2 separate regions of the Homo sapiens genome follow, and region 2 is linked to region 1. The links are contacts of gene promoters, found by promoter capture Hi-C in blood cells and fetal thymus (Javierre and others, 2016). All regions are on one chromosome and are shown on one strand. Each heading gives the region's core, a stretch centred on a gene start or on the middle of the fragment in contact. The rest is flanking DNA. Distances are from core to core; before and after follow the strand shown. Region 1 holds the start of UBE2V1 (ubiquitin conjugating enzyme E2 V1). Region 2 overlaps PTPN1 (protein tyrosine phosphatase non-receptor type 1).

Evidence for each region. Contacts are between HindIII fragments. The CHiCAGO score rates a contact against its expected background, and 5 or more counts as called.
Region 2: a contact is called between a fragment that was not itself captured here and the fragment with the promoter of UBE2V1 in region 1, in 1 of 17 cell types (monocytes). The highest score is 8.3, in monocytes.

Annotation. Positions count from the first base shown.
Region 1 is chr20:50,111,462-50,116,324 of GRCh38, reverse strand. UBE2V1 (ubiquitin conjugating enzyme E2 V1) reads left to right here and starts at 3,175. Exons shown (of 4, transcript NM_001032288.3): 1 at 3,175-3,218. The coding sequence starts at 3,197. All of the region lies in intron 5 of PEDS1-UBE2V1 (PEDS1-UBE2V1 readthrough), which reads left to right. RefSeq lists silencers at 248-404, 3,108-3,647 and enhancers at 2,256-2,823, 2,828-2,937. The HindIII fragment of the contact is 8,664 bases long and covers 1-4,863 here.
Region 2 is chr20:50,534,851-50,539,965 of GRCh38, reverse strand. All of the region lies in intron 1 of PTPN1 (protein tyrosine phosphatase non-receptor type 1), which reads right to left. Among named protein-coding and RNA genes, the nearest start is that of PTPN1, 27 kb to the right of the region's middle. The HindIII fragment of the contact is 7,346 bases long and covers 1-5,115 here.

The sequences.
Region 1 (4,863 bases), core at 1,926-4,425:
TCTCACAAATGGAAATGGTAACAGCTACTTTGCAAGGTTCATTGAGGATTAGGTAATAATAGCAGCTAATACTTATATTGCACTTAGTGCCAAGCCCTCTTCTAAATTCTCTAGTTCTATTAACCATTTTAATCTTCCCCAAAATCCGATAAAACAAGACTCTTATCCCATCAGCTGAGTTTATCAGCTCAAGCGCAGAGCGGTGATCAGGCGCAGGCGCCGGAAGGAATCCTGCTCTGGGGACCGGCTGTGACGTCCAGGAATGGGGCAGAAACTCTTCGAGGGAGCGTGTGCGCGGGACGTACTACAACTCCCATCAGGCACTGCGCCAACGCTAGACTACAACAACCAGCATGCCTCGGGCTGTCCCGCCTAACCTCTTCCTGCGATGAGCTCGGCACGGGAATTATTATTGTCAATTTTACTTGCAAGAAGTTTCCTACAAGAGCCAAGGAATCCATGCGAGTAAACATTTACGGGCACCATAGATAAAAGGCTTGTGTTTTAATCCTCATCCTCTCCACCTGTTAGCTCTGAGTCTCAGTTTTCTCATCTCTAAAAATGGGGATATTCACAGGAGTTGCTGCATCGAGTTGTGAGGATTAAAAGTTGGATGTAACGGCTTGGTAATTATGAGCTCTTCTAGTGTCCCTTCCTCTTCCCTGTGCCCAAGGGGTTTTAGGAAAGCATTTTATCTCCACAGCAATCCTATGAGGTTGATACTACTATCCTCATAGAAGGGGAAACTGATGCCAGGAGAGGTTCAAGCGTCTTACCTGAAGTCACAAAGCAAACTGAGTGATGAAGGAAGACTTGAACCTAGAAAATTTCACTGCAAAGGTGAGTCCACCTTAGGAACCCAAATGCTTCCACTTGCTACTGATGCTTTACAGTGACCCCAAGTCCAGGGCAAGTATTTTCTGTGCTCCCCAAAGCAAACTTGTATCACGTGATACACGAAAAGTCAAGTTGCTTCACCTGTAGCCAGTGCTGGCACTTTGAGAGCTAATTATAGCTGAATTTGATGTGGTTGGAGGAATCGAGGAAGGCTTCCCTGAGGGGATGGTGCTGGATCTGAGAACTGAAGAGTGGGAACAGCACAGGCAAAGCCCCTGAAGTGGGAGAGGGCATGTGTTCCAGGGGGCTTGCAAAGGGCCAGTGTCGCCGCAGAGGTACAGAAAGTCTCAGAGGCGCAGGCTGTGCCAAGGCTATGGTGAGGCAAGTGGGGTACCTAGGGTGCAGATTTTTTTTTTTTTTTTGAGACTGAATCTCTCTCTGTTGCCCAGGCTGGAATGCAATGGTGCAATCTCAGCTCACTGCAACCTCTGCCTCCCGGGTTCGCTCGATTTTCCTGCCTCAGCCTCCCGAGTAGCTGGGATTACAGGTGTGTGCTACCACGCCCCGCTAATTTTTGTATTTTTAGTAGAGACGAGGTTTCACCATGTTGACCAGGCTGGTCTGGAACTCCTGACCTCAGGTGATCTGCCCACCTCGGCCTCCCAAAGTGCTGGGATTACAGGTGTGAGCCACCATGCCCTGCCCTAGGGTGCAGATTTTAAGGAGTCACTCACCTGCAGCGCTGTGCAAGTGCGGAGTCAGGACCTGAGTGAAAGCCCCGTTAAATCTGACCACCCCATCCTCGTCCCTGCCCTGGGTGCAGAGCCTGGTGCACAGGGTGTCCAGGCATCCTGCTTTGCCCTGGAGAGCCCTGGTTTCCACTTGTCCTGGTGAGATTATAATAAGTCCCCTTTTAATCTGATGTGTGTCCTCATTAGGTGATAATTCTATGGTCGCTCAACTTGTAAAGTTTGTATTTTATCCAGAGGGAATGGGGAGCCACTGAAGGCTTTAGCTGGAGGGTGTTTTGAGCAGATGTTGGTCTATATGGAGAATGGGCCATAGGGGAGAGAATGGAAGCTGCTGGGGTCTTCCAAGTGGGAGATAAAGGCAGCTTGCCCTGAGTGGAGAAGTGAACGGAGTGGAGAGATGCAGAGTAGGCACTGCTATCAGACAAAGGTGATGAATTGGATGTGCTGGGTGAGGGCTTCCAGCTTCCTTGTCCCTCTATGTTTAGAGTCCTGGTCCTTCTGCCAGTATTTTGCTCTGTGACCTTAAGCCAGTCCCTTCACCTCTCTCAGCCTCAGTGTCTACATCCATATAAGGGCTTCTCAGACAATTTATAATAAAGGAGGAGTACCTTCTTGGGTTTATTTATTTGCAAAAATATTTCCCAAGGGCCTTTGCACAAGCTGTTCCCTCTACCTCCTCATTGTTACGGTCTCTGCTGAAATATGACCACCTTAGGAGGCCCTTCCTGACCATCCTCTGCTGCTCTTGTCTTGGTTTATCTCTACCCTATCAGAATTATAGTTTCCTGTTTATTTACTTGCTGTCTACGACTAGAATGTAAGTCCCTGAAAGCAGGGATTTGCTTCTTCAGAGATGTCTATCCATCCCCAGCGCCTAGCACAGTGTCTGGTACATAGTAGGTGCTTAATGTTTGTTTGTTTGGTTGAATGAATGAATGAACGAATGAATGAATGAATGAATGAATGAATTGGGTAGATGGTTAGCAAATGCTTTCCCTGCCACCTTAATGCCCCTAAATCATTTAGCTGCACCCACTCCAAGCCTTCTCTGGCCGGGGAGCATCAATCCTAGGAGCCAGATCATCTGACCTGGAGGGTGATGATTCAAAAAATTTGAACCTGGAGGTTAAAATTCTGCCTGTCTCTGCCACTTAACAGCTGAGTTTAGATAAATCGCTTGATCTCTCTCGGCTGCATTTTTCACATTAATTCTGACCTTGCGGAGATGTGGTGAGGATCTAGATAGGAACTAGACAGGAAAAAGCCCCAAGCGAATTCGGCGCTTTTGTTTGAAGCTATATTTTCTTTTTCTTTCACAATCGCGCCTTCCCAAGCCTAGTCACCCCTGCCCTTCTCACTAAGCACATCACAACCTCCCTCGCACCCGATGTGTGGGGACTTGCAGGTTGCTGGGCCCTCGAGCACGCAGATATTTCCTTTCTCTAAAAGGGAAGGAAAAGAGCCTTCCAGGCCACGGGTCGTGCAGGTCTCCGGGGCGGGCGTCAGCGGCGGCGTATGTGCGTGCGCGCGCGCCTGCGCATCAGGGCCGGGGGACGGGTAAGGGGGGGGTGAAGAAGGGGCCGGCCTTCAAGCAAGAGCGACGCAAGATGGCAGCCACCACGGGCTCGGGTGAGCGGGGGCGCCGGGCCCGGCCGGCCGAGGGGGCATGGGCTTGGGCCGGGGGCCGGGGACCCTCAAAGCCTCCTGCAGCGGAGCCAGGGTCCCCGCGCCGCCTCTGTCTGCTGGGCTCCGCGGCAGCCACCGGCGCGGCCTGACCGGGGGAGGAGGAGCAGGCGGTGGCCGGAAGCACGGGCGGGGGGCTGAGGGGCCTGTGGGCGGCGCGGCGAGGCCCTGAGGCTCCCCCGGGAGGCGTGAGGGCCCTCTGTGCTGTCTGGGGGAGCCGGAGTGGGCGAGGAGCGAGCTCCGAGGCACTCCTGAGGATACCGGGGCTGGCGACTCTTAAGGGGCGATCTAGAGGTCCCCTAGAGGAGGCGCCCCACAGCGGATGGAAGTCCCATACTGGGTGCCAGGGGTGCGGCTGAGAGGGGCCTTGGGATGTCTGGAGGGGACATCAGAGAAGCCCTTCAGGCTGGATGGAAGAAACGGGATCCTGAGGGGGTGACTTGAGAGGATCCCCTATCGGTTGAGGGAACGGCTCCGGCGTTAGTTTTAGAGATGGGGTTAGCTGAGGAAATAGCTATGTTGACTAGAAAGGAGGAGCCTTGGAGCAGCTGCTTTTGGGGAGAATGAAGGGGGTCTCCGCATGATAAGTGAGAGGAGGGAAAAGGATTCAGATGCCAGAGGGACCTAATAGCGGTGATAGTGAAATGACCCCATCATTACCAGTCTCCTGTTCGAGGATACAGATGGATTGCTTCAAGTTAGGTTTCAGGGGACAAGGTCCGAGTGGGGCAGTTGGTGGAAGCCTCTGATATTGGATGAGGGAGAACAGATGAATTGGGAGCCCCGAGGATGTCTCTTTGGGAGTGGGGATTCAACTGAGGGAAGCCCCTGAAATGAGGGAGTGGAAAAGGTCGGGTTCCGGAGATGTTTCCTGTAAAGGAGAAAAGTCTCCTCTTTTTGAATTGAGTGAGGGAAGCATATCCTAGAAGTGTCTCTTCTGTGGAGACGCTCACTCTCATCGACTCCTTTAATAATTGGGACAGATATGTGGGTTCAGCTCAGAAGTTCCCCACTGGCTGATGGGAGTAGGGAGGTGAATAGATGAAATGGGAACTCTTGGGTGAGGCTGCACCCTCAGGTGCCTGGCAGTGAAGTTGGCCAAGGAGGTTCTCTCAGATGGGGTGAAAATGGGTTACCTCTCTGATGGAGGAAGCAAACAGGGCCACAGTGTTCCCCACTGTGGGGCTGCAGGGACACCAGCCTGAGTACAGCAATCATTGGCATATTTAAGGCCACAGCAGCGGCAGTGTTGGGAAGGAATTGGTGATCCATGGGAAATAGGGTGAGGGGAATTCTTTATAAATGTTGCTACTCTGCGGTCTCAAGGAGCCATACTTGCCTGATGGTTGGGGTGGGAATAAAAGAAATTGAATGTGGGGGATCTGACTGAAGTGACCCACCACAAGCTGCTGCCTTTTGAGTTTAAAACAGTGGGGTCTTCTTGCAGAATAGCGGAGACCATGAATCCTTTTACTCGATTTTGGTTTCAGCTGGAACAGTGCTGAGTCAATTCATTTACCATGACGCTGCCCCAGGCACTCCCAGAAGAGAGATTCTGAGTCAGGCCAGACTGCTGGGTAAAACTTCTCAC
Region 2 (5,115 bases), core at 519-3,018, 430 kb before region 1:
CTGAAGAAGGAAACCCAAGCAATGTACCAGACGAAAAACGGAAAACTCTAATTCAAGATTTTCCTGAAATTAAAAAAAAAAGATTTAAAACTACATATTGAAAGAGCACATGGATTTTTGAGGGAGAACAACCCAAAACAGCCAACACCAAGACATGGTTGCATAAATGATGAGACTTTGAATTAAAAGGTTAAAAAAATCCTTTGTTCCTCAAGCCCAGGAGTTCAAAACTTCAGTAAGCTCTGACTGCCTCACTGCACTAAAGCCTGGGCAACAGGGTGAGATCCTGTCTGTTTAAAAAAAAAAAAAAAAAAAAAAAAAGAGAGAAAGAGGGAAAAAATCCTTTGGGCACATAGACAAAAAACCCTAAGTCACTTATAAGCAAAAGATAATTAGACTGTCAAACATTTACAGCAATGCTTTATACCAGAAGACAACAGAATAACATATTTACCTTAAAGAAAGAAAATGTGATCCAAACATTTTTATATACAGACCAAATGGCCTTAAAATAATAGGCTGCTGACAAACTATTATGAATATGTACTGTTGATTCACAGAAGATTGTTCCCACAAGCCCTTCCTGAGGAATCTAGTGCAGAAAGAGCTTCAGGAAGAATTGAGAGAAGAGGCTGGGCGCGGTGGCTCACGCCTGGAATCCCAGCACTTTGGAAGGCTGAGGCAGGTGGATCACCTGAGGTCGGGAGTTTGAGACCAGCCTGGCCAACATGGAAGAAACCTTGTCTCTACTAAAAATACAAAATTTGCCAGGGGTGGTGGCACGTGACTGTAATCCCAGCTACTCAGGAGGCTGAGGCAGGAGAGTCGCTTAAACCCAGAAGGTGGAGGTTGCGGTGAGCCGAAATCGTGCCGTTGCACTCCAGCCTGGGCAACAAGAGCGAAACTCTTTCTCAAAAAAAAAAAAAAAAAAAAAAAAAAGAATTGAGAAGAACTTAGAGTGAGCATTAATATTTACTAGTAGGTCTAAGATAGAAGGATGTAAGGGAGACAACACTCTATACTACAGCTATGTCCGAGGCAGAGGCACAGAACAGGACGAGTTTGTGAAAAGTAAAACAATCTTGCTTATTGCTTTTATAGGTAGCAGCTAGGAATACTTCAAATCAGACTCTGGAGGAGGGTGAAAGAAGGGAGAAGAAATGAATATTAGCTAACTTCAACACTGCTCACAAAAGGGAATCACAACAACAGCCAAACACTGAGAAGATGAAGGGCATATAATAAAGATAATAGTATAGAAGCAACTATTAGAAAACACAAATGTTCCTAAATGCCAAAAGATTTAATGATTTATAAAATTTCTTCTCATATTATACAAATAACATGTCCAGTGTATATAATACAAAGATATAACAATAACCTAACCAGTGTTCACAGTCTGGCAGTGCCTACTCTTCCCCACTCTTCTCCAAACACACGCAAACGTAAACAGCGAATTCTTACTGCTTGTTTTTACACAGAAAGGATCACACTGTACACATCACTCTGACAGTCACACCTAACTAGTTTTTCTTCTCAGGTCCTTGCTGTTTGCTTGTATAGCCCCTTGGCCGTTTTATCTCCTGTTTCTACATTTTTTTTCCAGCTGACTTTCTGGTCAGTGTGCTTGTAGCTACCCCATGCAACCTGACAACCAGCTTCTCTTCTGTCCTTTTCATGCTTTCTCAACTCCAAATACTCTAACACAACTTCCTTTTCACATTTCTGTTTTTTTTTTTTTAACTTTTTACAACACCCTCAAATCAAAACTCGGGATTGTTTTCTGATTATAAAGGTACTGTGTTTCCATTTAGAAAATTCAAGCAACACTGAAAACCAGGAAGTATAAATCAACTGACCACCTATGTACCAACCAGGGTGCTGAGTATCTTTTCGGTTATTTGTTCCCCAGAGAGGCAGCCAGTGGAGAAAGCTCGATGGCCTATTACCACCTGAGAACAACATCCACTCAAGATGAAGAGCAAAAGCTCAAAGCCTCCTCTGTTGCTGGAACTTTCCCCATGTTTATTCTTCTACTTACTCTACTCTGCTTAAATTACGGGCCATTTGACATGTACATTACTGTCAGGCCTTTTTCAGACATTGCTGATGCTTCAGTCCATTTTGAACGGCATTCAATGGTTCTCTGTTGGTTAGGTATCATCCAGCATACCTTTCAGCACCCAGGGTAACTATAAACTGGCTAAACCGTATCTAAACAATCAACAGGCTTATAAAGTACAAGCAGATTGGCAATTCTGTTTTCAATCTCATTTCTCTTACAGGTAGCTGCTTTCTTAAAACAGGTTTAAAGAAAACATACAAGGGTATGACGGAGATATGATTAGGAGAGGGAATGCTTTTTGAGGGCAGAACAAAACAACCTAGAATTGAATCACATTAAAAACAGCTTTATAATAAAAGAGTATTGAAAACACAATGCATACACACGTGGATACGAGTAACACTGGGGAAATATGAATAAGATGAGCAGACTGTATCAATGTCAGTATTGTGGTTGTGATACTGTACTGCAGTTCTGCAAAATGTTATGGGCAGTGGATGGGGGAACTAGGCAAAGCGCACATGGGATCTCTCTGTTTTATTTTTAAAGTTTATTTATTATTATTATTATTATTTTTGAGATGCAGTCTTGCTCTTGTTGCCCAGGCTGGAGTGGAATGGTACCATCTCGGCTCACTGCAACCTCTGCCTCCGGAGTTCAAACGATTCTCCTGCCTCAGCCTCCCAACTAGCTGGGATTACAGGTGCCCGCCACCACACCCAGCTAATTTTTGTATTTTTAGTAGAGACAGGGTTTCGCCATGTTGGCCAGTCTGGTCTCAAACTCCTGACCTCATGATCTGCCTGCCTCGGCCTCCCAAAGTGCTGGGATTACAGGCGTGAGCCACCGCGCTCAGCTCTGTATTATTTCTTTCAACTGCACAGGAATCTACAATTATGTCAACAACAATTTTAACTAAAATATATGATTGGCAAAATATAGATCAAAATGTTTAGAGTGCTTATAAGCTGCAGTGATAGGAATAAAGAAAAATTTTACTTTTTTTGTTTTCTACAGTAAACATGAAATATAGCATAAAAATAGAAAAGTAAGTATTTCTTAACAAGAGGTAAAAAGATATAATCAAGACTTGGGACATGTAAAAAATATTTTATAAAATCTCAAGGAATATAAGTAAAGGGAATACAGGACTGTTCAACAAATTACAGGATTCTAAGTTATTAAAAACATCCTTAAAATTAAAAAAATCTGGGTAAACAAAGGGGAGGGCCTATGTATAGTGGTAAAACATTAACTTAAGGAAATGGTATGTCAGGAGGCGATGTGCTCTAGGGACCAATGTTCTGGCCACACGCCTTCCCTGTGTTCTTTAGAATTGCTAAGCCACTTCTAATCACATCATTCTTTAAGCCTTGCTTAAGTGCCCAAGGACCACTTCAAACAAGCTCAAAGCTCCTTTGTAAACACTTGCATTGCATCTTTTATTTTTCTTTCCCAGCACTCCTCCACAATTAAAATTAATCATTTGTGTGACTGTTTCAGGTTGGTCTTCCTCTTATAATTATAAAAGAGGCCATTGGTACACGTTTCTGATCAGCACACCGCCTGGCAACTGCATTCACGGAATACATTTTTAAATGAAGTAAGCGCCAACATAAATTATATGAATATACAGATGGCTATCACACTGCCTTATAGGGAAAAGTAAGACTCTTCTGTTCAAGAATAACTGTTAGGTAGGTAGATGACTCTCAAGAGCTGAGTCTTCAATAAGGCTTTATTTAATTTCACAAACATTTCTGAAGGATTTATGGAGGTATCCCATCTTATGTGGTGACTAAATCCTACAGTTAGATATGAGGTAAAATTTGCACACAATCAAAATTAACCTCAGGAAAACATACCTTAAATTGCCAGCATCTAAGCCTTACACATTTTAATGCCTAGATTTTAACCTCTTTTCTCTTTTCAACTGATACCTCCCTTTCCCCAGAGGATATCAAGGTGTGGTTTGATACTGGCAATGTAGTATTCAAGGAATTTCTTTCTCTCTATTTGGGGGTGGGGGACGGGGACCAGTACATATGGTTTAATTAAGGAAGGCTAAATGTATATACGACACAAGACCACAGGGTGACTGAACATTAGGTACTGAGGATACAAAGATGTGAAAGGCAATCCCCATGTTCCTATAGGGTTCACATTCTAGCTAAAAAGAAAGTAATGTATAAGCAACCAAATAAAAATATTAATTCATATAAAATGTCTAAGCATTAAAAAGGAAAAGCATGTTGCAAAATCCTATTTTGCCTGTCAGAAGCTAAACACTGTTCTTTCTAGCAGCTTGCTTTCTGTAACCAAATCCTAACTTTCCCCTAAGCAGATGGAGTCCTAAGGCGAATTAGGGCAAAGTTAACGTGGTCACGGAGGCAACAGAGAAAAGAGTATTCATAATAAAATATTTCCCATACTACAAAAAAGAGGGGATTCAATAGAAAGGACAGCTCAGTGTAGGAAGAGGGAGGCACGTGCTCCGCTGAGGCAGGGGCTGTGAATAGAATGGTGGGTGGCTCCGCAGGCAGAAGACACAGCATCAGTAAAGACAGAATGTGGAGCATGCGCTGCAGGTGTACGGGGACCTGGCCAGGAGATCAAGGGAGTGCCTTTATCCAGGCATGCCTTCAGCACCTGTGTTAGGAATCTGGAGGTAACACCCTCATCAATGGGGAATGGAAGTTTTCAAGTAGGACAGTGATACATAACATGTCCTCCCATGAAAGATACAGCAGAAAGGAAGGACCTGAACCAGCTGAAGGCGACTTTGAAGACCACAGATGAGAAGGGCCTGAACTAAGGCTTGGGAAGGAAGTGAAGGAAAGAGTTTCAGACATACATCCCAAGAATAAAATTGGGCCTGTAATTCCAGCACTTTGGGAGGCCAATGCAGGAGGACCGCCTGAAGGCAGGAGTTCCGCCTGAAGGCAGGAGTTCAAGGCCAGCCTGAGCAACAGTGAGACTCTGTCTCTATAAAAAATAAAAATAAAAAGTTAGCTGGGCATGGTAGCAAGAGCCTGTAGCCCCAGCTACTC